3 separate regions of the Homo sapiens genome follow, and regions 2 and 3 are each linked to region 1. The links are contacts of gene promoters, found by promoter capture Hi-C in blood cells and fetal thymus (Javierre and others, 2016). All regions are on one chromosome and are shown on one strand. Each heading gives the region's core, a stretch centred on a gene start or on the middle of the fragment in contact. The rest is flanking DNA. Distances are from core to core; before and after follow the strand shown.

Evidence for each region. Contacts are between HindIII fragments. The CHiCAGO score rates a contact against its expected background, and 5 or more counts as called.
Region 2: a fragment that was not itself captured here is called in contact with the fragment with the promoter of KLHL6 in region 1 in 8 of 17 cell types (endothelial precursors, M2 macrophages, megakaryocytes and 5 more); the score reaches 11.0 in endothelial precursors.
Region 3: a fragment that was not itself captured here is called in contact with the fragment with the promoter of KLHL6 in region 1 in 2 of 17 cell types (erythroblasts and M1 macrophages); the score reaches 6.8 in erythroblasts.

Annotation. Positions count from the first base shown.
Region 1 is chr3:183,553,330-183,557,683 of GRCh38, forward strand. KLHL6 (kelch like family member 6) reads right to left here and starts at 2,377. Exons shown (of 7, transcript NM_130446.4): 1 at 2,032-2,377. The coding sequence starts at 2,324. The HindIII fragment of the contact is 8,561 bases long and covers 1-4,354 here.
Region 2 is chr3:183,770,256-183,774,905 of GRCh38, forward strand. It overlaps YEATS2 (YEATS domain containing 2), which reads left to right. Exons shown (of 31, transcript NM_018023.5): 16 at 2,050-2,308; 17 at 3,378-3,539. Among named protein-coding and RNA genes, the nearest start is that of YEATS2-AS1, 38 kb to the right of the region's middle. The HindIII fragment of the contact is 2,373 bases long and covers 1,859-4,231 here.
Region 3 is chr3:183,787,405-183,792,030 of GRCh38, forward strand. It overlaps YEATS2 (YEATS domain containing 2), which reads left to right. Exons shown (of 31, transcript NM_018023.5): 21 at 3,393-3,576. Among named protein-coding and RNA genes, the nearest start is that of YEATS2-AS1, 21 kb to the right of the region's middle. The HindIII fragment of the contact is 202 bases long and covers 2,588-2,789 here.

The DNA of each region.
Region 1 (4,354 bases), core at 1,127-3,626:
CCCAAATTCCCATTTAGGATGAGAAACCCAAGAACCAGAGAAGACCAGTGATCAACTCGAGGGCACACAGCCAGCGGGCCTGGTCCACAGCCAGGCCAACCCGCTAACAAAACTGCTTCCAGGTATGCATTTTATGATAGCAAGGGATACAAAAGGATCAACCTAAATGTGCGTCCCCAGGGCATTGAGCTAACTTGACTTCACTCACTCCTGAGAGGGGCTGCAGTCAACGTGAAAGCACGTGATCAAGGTTGGTGGAGAAAGTAATGTGTTTATATCAACCCATTTTGATGGCTGTGTTTACACTTTATATTTTACACACTTCCCATGGAATGAAGTCCCAGACCTAGTGGCAGCTTGCATTGCAGTAACAAGGATTTCCAGAACATACCCAGTCCCTGCTCCAGCAATGACCAGATATATAATGCTGAGTTTTCATTTCCTCATCTGTGAAATATCAGCCACCTTCATCATGCTGTTACAAAAATAAAATCAGATAACTATGTCTGTCTGGCACACAGCAGCCACTGCTTCCCTCAAACCCAGATATCCCCTTGTCTTATCAACACAGGAGACCTAATGAGTCCCACAGCAACCTGCTGATCCTGCTCTATGAATTACAAAGAAACGTTTCCCCCCAAGCACCTCAAAAAAAAAAAAAAGAAAGAAAGAAAACGCTTTCCATAATACTTTCATAGGTTAATCGTTTTCAATTTCCTCAGCCAGAATCAAGAGTTAAGAAGAATCTCATTAAGAAGAATTCTAAGGGTATTTCTTTTCAAGTTCCCAAATACTTTCTTCATTATCCACATTGCCCTTGCAGGCTGGTTCCCCCATGTCCATGCTGATATGGAGAACACTGGATCAGGTGTATTCACTGGGTTCCCAGCGCTATAAAATTCCTACCCCAGGGACGTGCTCATGGGAAACACTCAATAAGTCATCCTTAGCTGAATCAAGCAGAATCAGAAAAAGAATTCCAAGAAAGATATATTGAGCATCTACTTACTATATGCTAGACACTGTGTAGGACCCTTTTCACGCTCTTGTTTAATTATGACAGCCCTGAAAGGTGATCATCATTGTGCTCACCTTACAGATGATGAAACAGACATTCAGAGCACTTTGTGACTTGCCTAAAGTTTCACTGTCAAGAAGGAACCAAGTCTCCTGACTTCAGGCCTTCCCACTATGAGATCACCAGTTTATCGTAACTAGAGGCCTCTCCCATCTAAAGCATCTTTGTAACTGCTTTCCCTTTCCCCACACTGCCTACACATAAAGAAGCCCCTAATTTGTAACAAGTCATTTGACAACTCCAGAAGAGGGGCCACATCCTTTTTCTCTATGTCTGTTGATTAACAAAGACAACATTATGTTTCCAACACCAGTCAGACCAAGGGGGAAAAAAGTCCCCATGACTTCAGTAATTTTCCATCCTTTGGAACAAGGAAATATACACAAAAGGTTTACTATAGAATGTAAGCATTGCTTTTAAATGATGCCAATCTCTCTTTTAATGTGGCCTAAATCCTAAAATTTAAAGTGTGATAAGCCGGGCGCAGCGTCTCACACCTGTAATGCCAGCACTTTGGGAGGCGGAGGCGGGTGGATCACCTGAGGTCGGGAGTTCAAGACCAACCTGACCAACATGGAGAAACCCCATCTCTATTGAAAATACAAAATTATCCGGGTGTTGTGGTGCATGCCTGCAAATCCCAGCTACTCGGGAGGCTGAGGCAGGAGAATCGCTTGAACCCAGGAGGCAGAGGTTGCGGTGAACCGAGATTGCGCCATTGCACTCCAGCCTGGGCAACAAAAGCAAAACTCCGTCTCAAAAATAAATAAATAAATAAATAATAAAATAAAGTGTGATAGTGTCCTTTCTTATATTTTAAGTAGACACACAAGCCTTAATATATATGTAAACCATAAATATCATGGCCAACTGTTCAAGATTGGGCTCTCACACTAACACACCTCTTCCTTGCAACTTGCACCCAATTTGACTCTGGTCCTAGGCATGCTGACCTGAAATAGTTGCTGGCTGCGGCAAGCACCACGCGGTGGCAGGAGAATTCCTGAATGTCCACACACAAGATGACATCTGTCAGAGCGTTTTCCATTCGCAGGGTTTCCAGGCCATTCTGAAGAATTAAGGAGAGTCCCGCGTCGTCAAATTTGACCTTTTCCCCATTTAAGATCTCGACCAAGTCTCCTGTTTTCTGGGAGGGCTCATCTGTAGAAGGTGCCAGGGGCCCTTCCAAACTCTTCTCGACCACATCACCCATGGTCCAGGCGCCCCTTTGTCCTGCCATCAACATCGAGACTGAAGGAGCGCCCAAGTGTCAGGCAGGCCCCATTGCAGGAGCTGAGCGGATTTCCTGTGCAGGGCCCTCCACTTATCACCAGCTGTCACACACACATAACAGGAAGTCTCGCACTTTCTCATCCTGTTACTACAAATGCCAGCAACTTCTATTCTTCTTCTTTCTGTGAGTAATCACAGGGTTAGAAATTACTTAGAATAGGTGTGTGGGAGGGGGTTCTGGAAGAGGAGTGTCCTCTCAGAGTCCACTGTGAGTGCTGTGTGTTTATTTTGGTGCATCTCCCACCTCATATCCGTGAGCAGGAAGCCTCCGGTGGTGGCTGTTACATTTGTACTCCTAATGCTATCAATAACCCAAGTCGTCAATGAGGGGATGGACAGGAGACAGTCTATAATCCTCCTGCTTCACATTTGTACTCCTAGTGGCTCAATAACCCAAGTCGTCAGCGAGGGGATGGACAGGAGACAGTCTATGATCCTCCCACTTCCTCCTCCCAGGAGTCTGAGACCCCACAATGATCCAACAACCGTGCTTTGTAAACCATGGAAACCCCACTTATCCCTGACATTCTCATTTCTGGCGGCACTGCAGATCGTCTATCTTCATCCTCCTCCCTACCCAGGGGAAAACAACGTCATGGCAAACTTTCATGTCTTCCCCCACCAAAAAAAATGTCTATTGTTTCGAATATGCTTTGGGGGCACAGAAGAAATGGTTTCCAAAACTCCATCAACAGCATCTTCTCAGAGGATGAGTCAGGGTGGGTCTACACCGAATTGCCATAGCACGTCTCAGATTAGCCCAACATCTACTGACCGTGCATCTAACGGTGGATCCTGAAGTATTTTCATTACCTCTGCATGTCTCAGTTAAGTAGTAATAACTGTCATTATTAAAATCCCATGATATCCTGGGGAAGTTATAGGAGCGTATCAGTTAGCGTTCTCTCACGCCCAACAGTAATGCTTTACCAGGTTGCTAGGTATTTCTTAGCCCAGCAAACTTGACATCTAAAATTAACCATTACAATTACAGTCATACCCAGCATAATGATATTTCAGTCGATGATGGACTCCAGAGAGACAGAACCAAAAGGATACCTAGAGAGGCATAGCAGAGGGAAATTATTAGGGGAATTGGCTCACGTGATTATGGAGACTGAGAAGTCGCATGACAGACTGCTGAGAGCTCAGTTCAAGTCCAAAGGCCTCAGAACCAGAGAAGATGGTATAACTCTCAGTCCAAAGCCAAAGGCCTGAGAATCCAGGGGGTGGGGAGACTGGTGTAAGTCCTGAAGTCCAAAGGCAGGGGATCCTGGAGTCCTGTTGTTCAAGGCAGGAGATGACTGTATCCCAGCCTCAGGAGATAGAGACATCGACCTTTCTTCTGTTTTTGTTTTCTCTGGGCCCCTGGCTGATTGGATGGTGCCCACCCACACTGAGAGTGTATCTTCTCTACCGAGTCCACTCAGACTCACTAATCTCTCCTGGAAACAACCTCACAGACACGCCCCATGGTAATGCTTTAACAGGTTGCTAGGTATTTCTTAGCCCAGTAAACTTGACATCTAAAATTAACGGTCACAAGTACAGTCATGCCCAGCACAATGACATTTCAATCGATGATGGACTGAATATACAATTGTGGTCCCAAAAGATTATAATGGAGCATATAAAGAAACCTGACGGCCGGGCGTGGTGGCTCATGCCTGTAATCCCAGCACTTTGGGAGACCAAGGCAGGGGGATCACAAGGTCAGGAGCTCAAGACCAGCCTGAGCAACATGGTGAAACCCCCATCTCTACTAAAAATACAAAAATTAGCCAGTCGCGGTGGCGTACACCTGTAATCCCAGCTACTTGGGAGGCTGAGGAAGGAGAATCGCTTGAACCCGGGAGGTGGAGGTTGCAGTGAGCTGAGATTGTGCCATTGCACTCCAGCCTGGGCAATAAGAGCGAAACTCTGCCTCAAAAAAAAAAAAAAAGTCATGGAAAAATAATGCCATTCACAATGGTAATAAAACAT
Region 2 (4,650 bases), core at 1,795-4,294, 220 kb after region 1:
CGCCTGTAGTCCCAGCTACTCGGGAGACTGAGGCAGGAGAATGGCATGAACCCGTGAGGCGGAGGTTGCAGTGAGCCGAGATTGCGCCACTTCCTGGGTGACAGAGCGAGACTCCGTCTCAAAAAAAAACAAAAAACAAAAAAACAAAAATTTCCTACTTATCAGTTGAATATGCTTTATCATTTCATTCTACCTTCTAAATAATCTTATTTTAAAATTTAGAAATACTCTAAAATTCCAGTAACATATGTAGAGAATTAAGTAATCAATACCCCCATATCCTCCACCCCAAATTTACTTATTCATGTTTACTTCAGATCTTTTTTCTCCAAATAAAACATTTCTGATAAAGTTGAAGTCCACTTTGTTCTTCCCAGAGGCAACAAGCACTGTCATGGCTTTGATGTGTAGCCTTCCACTCCATGCGCTTATTACATGAATACATAGTCATAGGAAACGTGATGTTGTTTGTGTTTTGAAGGTTTACGTAAAAGATATTCCTACTTACATTTTTCTGCAACTCCCTTTTCGCTTTCTTATTTTTCCAGTCTGTTTACACTAATATATCACTAATATATATAATTCTAGTTCATTTATTTTTAGTATGACCTTTCGTTGTCTGTTTTATGCCACAGTTTGTCCATTCCTCTATCTGTAGACGTTAAGAATGTTGTTGCATGCTGCAGACATTAAGGTTGCTAACAGTTTTTGGTAAAAATAATGCTATGTTGGGCATTGTTGTATATGTTCCCTTGAACGCATGTATGTTTCTCTAGGATATATTCCTAAAAACAATTCCTACTATACGGGGGTATGTGAATTTTCAGTTTTAGCAGATGGGCCAGTGCCTCTCTGGAATGGCTGTCCAAATTTATCTTCCTACCAACAGTGAGCACAAATTCCTATTTTCCCCACAGCCTCTAGTAACTTCTTGGTTTTAAACTCTTTTTCCCCCAATCTGATGGGTGAACAGCACTTCCTATTTTGTCTTTTTTGCCTTAAGAAGGTAGATCATTTGCATTTCTTCCAACCTTGTGGAAGTCTGTTCATCTAGTTTCTGGTGAGAAGTTCTTTTTATGAAATAAGGTGCTGGGAGTGGGAAACACTGCTCCAGTTTGCCATTCATTCAGTGTTTAATTTAACATCCTACTGTTGACTTTGTTTTAAAAACACTCCTGAGTATTTTCTTAAAAGAATTCATTTTACTTTTGGAACTAGATACTTCTAATTTTCATTATTTGGGTACTGGGGTCTTTTTTTTTTTTAATAGTTAAATATTATTCTTGCCTTTTTTTTTTTTTTTTTTTTTTCTTTTCTTAGGGTCTTGCTCTGTCACCCAGGCTGGAGGGCAGTGGTGTGATCACGGCTCAGTGCAGCCTTGAACTCCTAGGCTCAAGGGATCCTCCCCTGCCTCAGCCTCCTGAATAGCTGGGACTACAGATGTGTGCCACTGTACTGGCTAATTTTTTTTTTTTTTTTTTTTTTTTTTTAGACAGAGTCTCACTCTGTCACCCAGGCTGGAGTGCAGTGGCATGATCTTGGCTCACTGCAACCTCCACATCCTAGGTTCAGGGGATTCTCCTACCTCAGCCTCCAGAGTAGCTGGGACTACAGGTGTGTGCCACCATGCCCAGCTAATTTTTGTATTTTTAGTAGAGATTGGATTTCACCATGTTGGCCAGGCTGGTCTCGAACTCCTGACCACAAATGCTCCTCCTGCCTTGGCCTCCCAAAGTGCTGGGATTACAGGCATGAGCCACCACGCCCGGCCAAACTTTTTTCTTTATACTTCTGAATTTCCCAAATTTTCTATTAAAGTAAATTATAAAAAGTAGCTGAGGCAAGACAACAATTGTTAAGCTTCTATTATTGTAATACCCAAGTGTAAGAAATACAGTTGCCGTTCACACCTGTGTAGGTAGCTTTCCTAGATGACTGAATTAGGCTGCATGTATTATGTGCAGGCCTTTGTTTTGCTCTCTGCCAAAACGGTGACTGCTGTTCTAAGAGCTCTCGAAGCACCGTTGGACTCTGCTCTGTTTTGAACAGGTTGTCGGGGTACCAGTTGGGTCTGCTTTACCTTCAACAGTGAAGCAGGCTGTGGCGATCAGTGGTGGCCAGATCCTGGTAGCCAAGGCCAGCTCTTCTGTCTCCAAAGCAGTTGGGCCAAAGCAAGTTGTAACCCAAGGAGTTGCCAAAGCAATTGTGAGTGGAGGTGGAGGAACCATTGTTGCTCAGCCAGTGCAGACCTTAACCAAGGCCCAGGTTACTGCCGCTGGTCCTCAGAAGAGTGGATCCCAGGGTTCAGGTAAAACGGATCATCACTGGGAGCCCTTTCAGCAGAAGCTCTGTCCAAAATTTCCTTTGCTAGTGATTTTATTTGCTATTTGATCTGGTCTAGGAAAGCCTAGTTAGGTTGATGCTGTAAGAAGTGTATTGAAATGTTTGTTCTTTTTTATGGGACATTTTACATAAAGGTCTGTGAGTATTTAGCTTTAAATTTACACACACACACACACACACCCACATACACACACACACACGAACAAATCATTTCTCAGTACTGTGGGGGATTGGTTCCAGGACCCCCTGCTGCAGATAGCAAAATCCACAGATGCTAATCCACAGTCCCCTGTGTAAAATGCTGTACTGTTTACGTATAACCTATGTACATCCTCTGATGTACTTTACTTTATATCATCTCTAGGTTATCTTAATACCTAATAACAATGTAAATAACAATGTAATAACAATGTATATGCTATGTAAATAGTTGTTACACTGTGTTGTTTAAGGAATAATGACAAGAAAAAAGTCTGTACATGTTCAGTACAGATGTACTCATCCTTTTGTCTGCCAAATATATGGATATTTTTTATCTGAGGTAGGTTACATCCATGGATGTGAAATCCACAGATACAGAGGGCCAATGGTACTTGCCAGTTAGGAGCACACATTTGCCCTAACTTTGACTTTAAACAAATGGGGGAAAATATGTAATCCTCCATAGACAGGGTGATTATTTCATTAATCGTCCAAACCACAGTACTTTGGAGAGTAAAAAGAGTCATTATTAATAATTATAGTGGGACAGGTGTAACCTAGAACTGTTCTGGGCAGAACCAGGACGTACGATCATCCTATTATATACAGATATAAAGAGCCTCTGGCAGGCTCTTCTGGTCTATAAATTATTTTTTAATTAGCAAGATATTTAAGAATATCAGTCTTTAAAGCATTGTGCATCTGGGAAACAAACTTTGAATTTATTGCTTGTTAGTGTTCTAAAATAAGAATTTATTGCCTTGTATTTTAATTTTAGAGTGTTGCCCTTAGTTTCAATTTATCTTACAATTTTTTCTCCTTTACCATTTTAGTAATGGCAACGTTGCAGCTACCAGCCACTAATTTGGCCAACTTGGCAAATTTGCCTCCTGGCACTAAACTCTACCTAACTACAAACAGCAAGAACCCTTCAGGAAAAGGAAAACTGCTGCTGATCCCTCAAGGAGCCATCCTGCGAGCTACGAACAATGCTAGTTAGTGAAACCATTGGGTTGAATCATTTGGTTCTTGGTTCTCTATGTGTGTTCATCTTGTCCATCTGAGGGCAGTTCTTACCTGTTTCAGGAAGCATTTCTGTAACTCTGTTGGGTGGTGTAATGGTAGCATTTGCTCAGATGGATTTAACACATACGATAATTTAACTAGAAGTGGGTTTGCTCCTCAGCGTTTGCAATCAGAGATGAATCACTCTGGAGAGAGATGGCTGGTGAGGCTGTTGGGAGAAAGCTGTCTACATGAACCATGAATGAAGTGGTGTCTGAAAATTATCTGGTGATACCTGAGGGAAGATCCATCTACTTATAGAAGCTGGAAGTCTGTTTTTGGGGATAGGTTGGCATAGGATTGGAATCGAGTGTGTCTGTTTGACTTCATTTAGATCAGGGGTCCCCAACCCCTGGGCCGCACAGCAGAAGTTGAGCATGGACGAAGAAGCATTACTGCCTGAGCTCCGCCTCCTGTCAGATCAGCAGTGGCATCAGATTCTCACAGGAGCGCGAACCCTGTTGAGAACTGTGCATGCGAGGGATCTAGGTTGTGTGCTCCTTATGAGAATCTAATGCCTGATGATCTGAGGTGGAACAATTTCTTCCCCAAACCACCCCCCGCCTCCTGTCCCAATTCATGGAAAAGTTGTCTTCCATGAAACTGGTCCCTGGTGCCACAAAGCTTGGGGACAGCTGGTTTGGATGTATTCCTTACTTCTGCTAGGTTTGGAGATGGAAAGAGAAATACAGACTCTACCTAGGTTTGTAAGTCTTAAAGCCCCATGGAAATGAGGCAGTTTATCTGCAGTTAAAGAAACTTTTGCTTTGACATATAGAGAAAAACCGTTTGGGCAGTGTTGAAAAGGATAGGATAAAAGGAAATTATTTCCCTCTGAATCAGAAGTAGAAGGGTACAGCATTCAGGGTCATTGGAAGTTAACCGCCCTTGCCAAAATGCAGTGTGTCAGCTCATCATCCTTGCGTTCATTGACCATGATGTGTCAGTTCCACTCTCACTTGGTGTTTTTTCCTCATACCTAAGCAGTGGTATGTCCAAAAGTTAAATGTGTAAGAAAAGGACAATGTAAATATTTCAGAA
Region 3 (4,626 bases), core at 1,439-3,938, 230 kb after region 1:
TTGTAGTGGGTGTAAACTAGTATCTCATTGTGGTTTTGATTTGCGATTCCCTGTTAATGATATTGAGCATCTTTTCACGTATTTATTGGCTATTTGTATATCTTTTATCCATTTACATCCTTTGCCCATTTTTTAGTTGGTTGTCTTTTAATCGTTGAAGTGTAGGAGTACTTTATATATTCTAGATATGTCTCTTACCAGATTTGCAAAAATTTTCTTGCACTCTGAGCTGTCTTTTCACTTTCTTGATAGTATTGAACCACAAAAGTTTTAAATTTTGGTTTTCATTCCTTTTTAAATTTTTTAAATTAGGCTGGGCGCAGTGGCTCATGCCTGTAATCCCAGCACTTTGGGAGGCCGAGAAGGGCGGATCACGAGGTCAGGAGATCAAACCATCCTGGCTAACAAGGTGAAACCCCCGTCTCTACTAAAAATACAAAAAAAAAAAATTAGCGGGGCGTGGTGACGGGCGCCTGTAGTCCCAGCTACTCAGGAGGCTGAGGCAGGAGAATGGCATGAACCCAGGAGGCAGAGCTTGCAGTGAGCCGAGATTGCGCCACTCCACTCCAGCCTGGACAGTAGAGCGAGATTCCATCTCAAAAAATATATATAAATAAATTATTATGGGTACATAATCAATGTGGATATTCACAGGGTACATGTGATGTTTTGATGCAGGCATACAATGCGTAATAATCGCATCAGGGTAATTGGGGTATCTGTCACCCTAAGCATTTATCTTTTTTTTAAACCAATTGTATTCTTTGTGACTGTAAAATATATAAGAAATTATTGTGAATTTTGGTCACCCTGTTGTGCTATCAAATACTAGATCTTACTCATCCCTTCTAACTATATTTTTGTACCCATTAACCATCCCCACTCCCTCCCTCCCTGCTGTTGGCCTTCCCACCTTCTGGTAACCACCATTCTTCTCTCTGTCTTCATGGGTTCAGTTGTTTTAATTGTTAGCTCCCACATGAGTGAGAACGTGTGAAATGTGTCTTTCTGTGCCTGGCTTATTTCACTTAACATAATGTCCTCCAGTTCTATCCATGTTGCAAATGACAGGATTTCATTCTTTCTTATAACGGAATAATATTGTATTGTGTATATGTACCACATTTTCTTTATCGTTCACCTGGTGATGGACACTTAGGTTGATTCCAAATCTTGGCTATTGTGAATAGTGCCGTAATAAACATGGAAGTGCAGACGTCTCCTCATATACTCATTTCCTTTGTTTTGGGTATATACCTAGCAGTGGGATGTGGATCATATGGTAGTTCTATTTTCAGTTTTTTGAGGACCCTCTGTACTGTTCTCTATCGTGATTGTACTAACTTAGATTCCCACCAGCAGTGTACGAGGGTTCCCTCTTCACATCCTCGCCAGCCTTTTGGATGAGAGTCATTTTAACTGGGTGGGATGCTTTCTCATTGTAGTTTTGATTTGTGTTTCTCTCACAATTAATGATGTTGAGCATTTTTTTATATGCCCCTTGGGCCATTTATGTGTCTTCTTTTGAGAAATGTGTGTTGAGATCTTTTGCCCATTTTCAAATGAGATTGTTTGGCTTTTTTCTATAGAGTTGTTTGAGCTTCTATATTCTGATTATTAATCCCTTGTCAGATGTATATGTAGTTTGCCAGTATTTCCTCCCATTCTGTGGGCTGTCTCTTTGTTGATTGTTTTCTTTGCTGTGCAGAAGCTTTTTAACTTGATGTGATCCCATTTATACATTTTTGTTTTGGTTGCCTGTGCTTTTGAGGTACTACTCAGGAAATCTTTGCCCAAACCGATGTCCTGGAGAGTTTCCCTAATGTTTTCTTGTAGTAGTTTCGTAGTTTGATGTCTTAGATTTAACTCTTTAATCCATTTTGATTGCATGGTGAGAGCTAGGGGTCTAGTTTCATTCTTCTGCATAAAGATATCCAGTTTTCCCAGCACAAGTCTTTATTAAAGTCCCAACTTACCTATTTTTCTTTCATTGCTTTTTCTTTTGATGTCACATCTGAGAAACCATTGCCTAATCCAAAGCCACAAAATTCAAGCCTTTGTTTTCTTCTAAGTTTTATACATTTAGCTCTTATATTTAGGTTTCAGATTCATTCGAGTTAATTTTTTTTTTTTTTTTTTTTTTTTTTTTGAGACAGAGTCTCGCTCTGTCACCCAAGCTGGAGTGCAGTGGCGCGATCTCGGCTCACTGCAACCTCCACCTCCTGGATTCAAGTGATTCTCCTGCCTCAGCCTCCTGAGTAGCTGAGATTACAGGCACCCACCACCACGCCCAGCTAATTTTTTTTTTTTTGTATTAGTAGAGATGGGGTTTCACCATGTTAGCCAGGAGGGTCTTGCTCTCCTGACCTCGTGATCCACCCGCTTTGGCCTCCCAAAGTGCTGGGATTATAGGCATGAGCCACTGCACCTGGCCGCTCTAGTTAATTTTTGTACGTGGTGTGAGGTAGACACCAAACTTTATTCTTTTTTATGTAAATATCCAGTTGGCCTAGAAACATTTGTTGAAAAACCATCTCTCAATCGTCTTGGAAGCCCACAGACTTGAATGATGTGGCTTGACTTCTCAAGCTTCATCTCCTGCAGCTGCTGCTTCCCCGTGCCTCTTCACAGGTGACACCACTCTGCTTTGCAGCTTCTTGAACATACAATGTTCTTTCATGCCTCACCAACTTTCTACATACTCTCCTCTGCCAGGAAACACTGTCATCTCTCCCTTTCTCTGTCTTAAATCTGGAAGATTCCTCTAAAGTGCCTAATGTTTTACCTGAAGCTTTTTCCTGTACCCTCCTGTTTCTATTCCTAGGCAGAAGCAGTGCCTTTCTTCTTGGTTGTGTTGGTGACATTTGCCTGTGCTTGCCGTAGCATCATTATACTTAGGTGACTGTTTCCTTGGTCGCTTTTCTCTCAGAGCCTTAGCACTTAACCATTATGCCGGCCATGTAGTAGATGTTTGTTCAATGAAGTGACAGACTGTAGATGTTTGTTCAATGAAGTGAATCATTGTCATGTGTTCTTAATAAAGCTCATTTTTAGTCCATGTGTATATTCTGAGAATATGTCCTCCTAGTTTTTTGGTGATGAAGTTGCCTTTTATAAAGGGATATAATAGGTGGTGAATTTTAAAAATATGATGACCCCCATGATACTTCCTTGTTTTAAATTTTTTAAATTTTCTTGGTCCATGAAATGTAAAGGTATAGTAACCACTGAACTAGAGAAGTAATCTTTTTTAAATGGTATGGCATTTACTAAGTAGTCATTAACACCTAATAGATGATATTTAGTGTGTGTGCTGTGTGGCCGTCACCGCCGTCAGTCATCACTCTGCTTTCTTCCTGAACTGTGTTGTTTCGGACCCCATGGGTGAGCAGTCTGAAGGAATGGCTCCCGTGTCTTCATCTACGGTCAGTTCTGTAACGAAAACTTCTGGGCAGCAGCAAGTGTGTGTGAGCCAGGCCACCGTGGGAACCTGCAAGGCTGCCACCCCCACCGTCGTCAGCGCCACGTCCCTCGTGCCTACACCAAACCCCATCTCTGGGAAAGCCACAGTATCCGGTGAGTTGCATTGTGATATTATTTCTCTCTCTTTTCTCTCATTGGGCTGGAATATTTTTGTTTGTTTGTTTGAGATAGCGTCTCACTCTGTCGCCCAAGCTAGAGTGCAATATCACAATCTCGACTCACTGCAACCTCTGCCTTCCAGGCTCAAGCCATCCTCCCACCTCAGCCTCTTGATTATCAGGGACCACAGGCACATGTCACCACACCCAGCTAATTTTTTGTGTTTTTGGTAGAGATGGGGTTTCACCACGTTGCCCAGGCTGGTGTTGAACTCCTCAGGTCAAGCAGTCCACCCACCTCAGCCTCCCAAAGTGCTGGGATTACAGGCGTGAGCCACTGTGCCCAGCTATTTTTTTGGAGGGTCTTAAGCAATATTTTGTATGGTAAATTGTTAAAAGTAATTAACCCAGCAGCATTTTCTGAACAGTTGCTTTTTAGATGAATTATTTTTGTTTAAAATCTACGTATCAGATTTTGTCTGAGACTTTAAATTATCATTTGAAAGTTACTATTTGAATTTTTGAATGATATAATAAACCCTTAGCCACGCAGAACCCTACTGGGTATTTTAGCTTTTTTTATAACGTAATTTTGGGGAGAGCCAAGAGTTTGCTTTCCTTAAAGTACTAATTTCTTTTTTCCTATAATCAGTGTCGAATAGAATTCACTATAAAATGTATACCTTTCTTTGCTTTTATAAAGTATATAAAATATATCTTAGCCTTGTTGACTCCAAGTCATAATTTTTAACATTAGTTATTATCTTGGCTAGTGTTAGAGTGATAGGCTGGAGATCCAGTAAGAGCTATGGTGTCTTTGTGCCTGCACTAGAGGGCCTCAGAAAAGTGTACCTTTTGTTTCTGAGTAACAGAGAGCACACATCCTGAGACCACATTGCCTTAGTTGAAGTGATTTGCTTCAGTTTCTCAGCTGTAAATGAGATTGATAATAATACCTACTTCATAAGGTTGAGAGGTTTAAATGAGTTTGTAATATATCAGTGCTTAGAATACTGTCTGGTGTGTAGTGGCCATTATATAAACA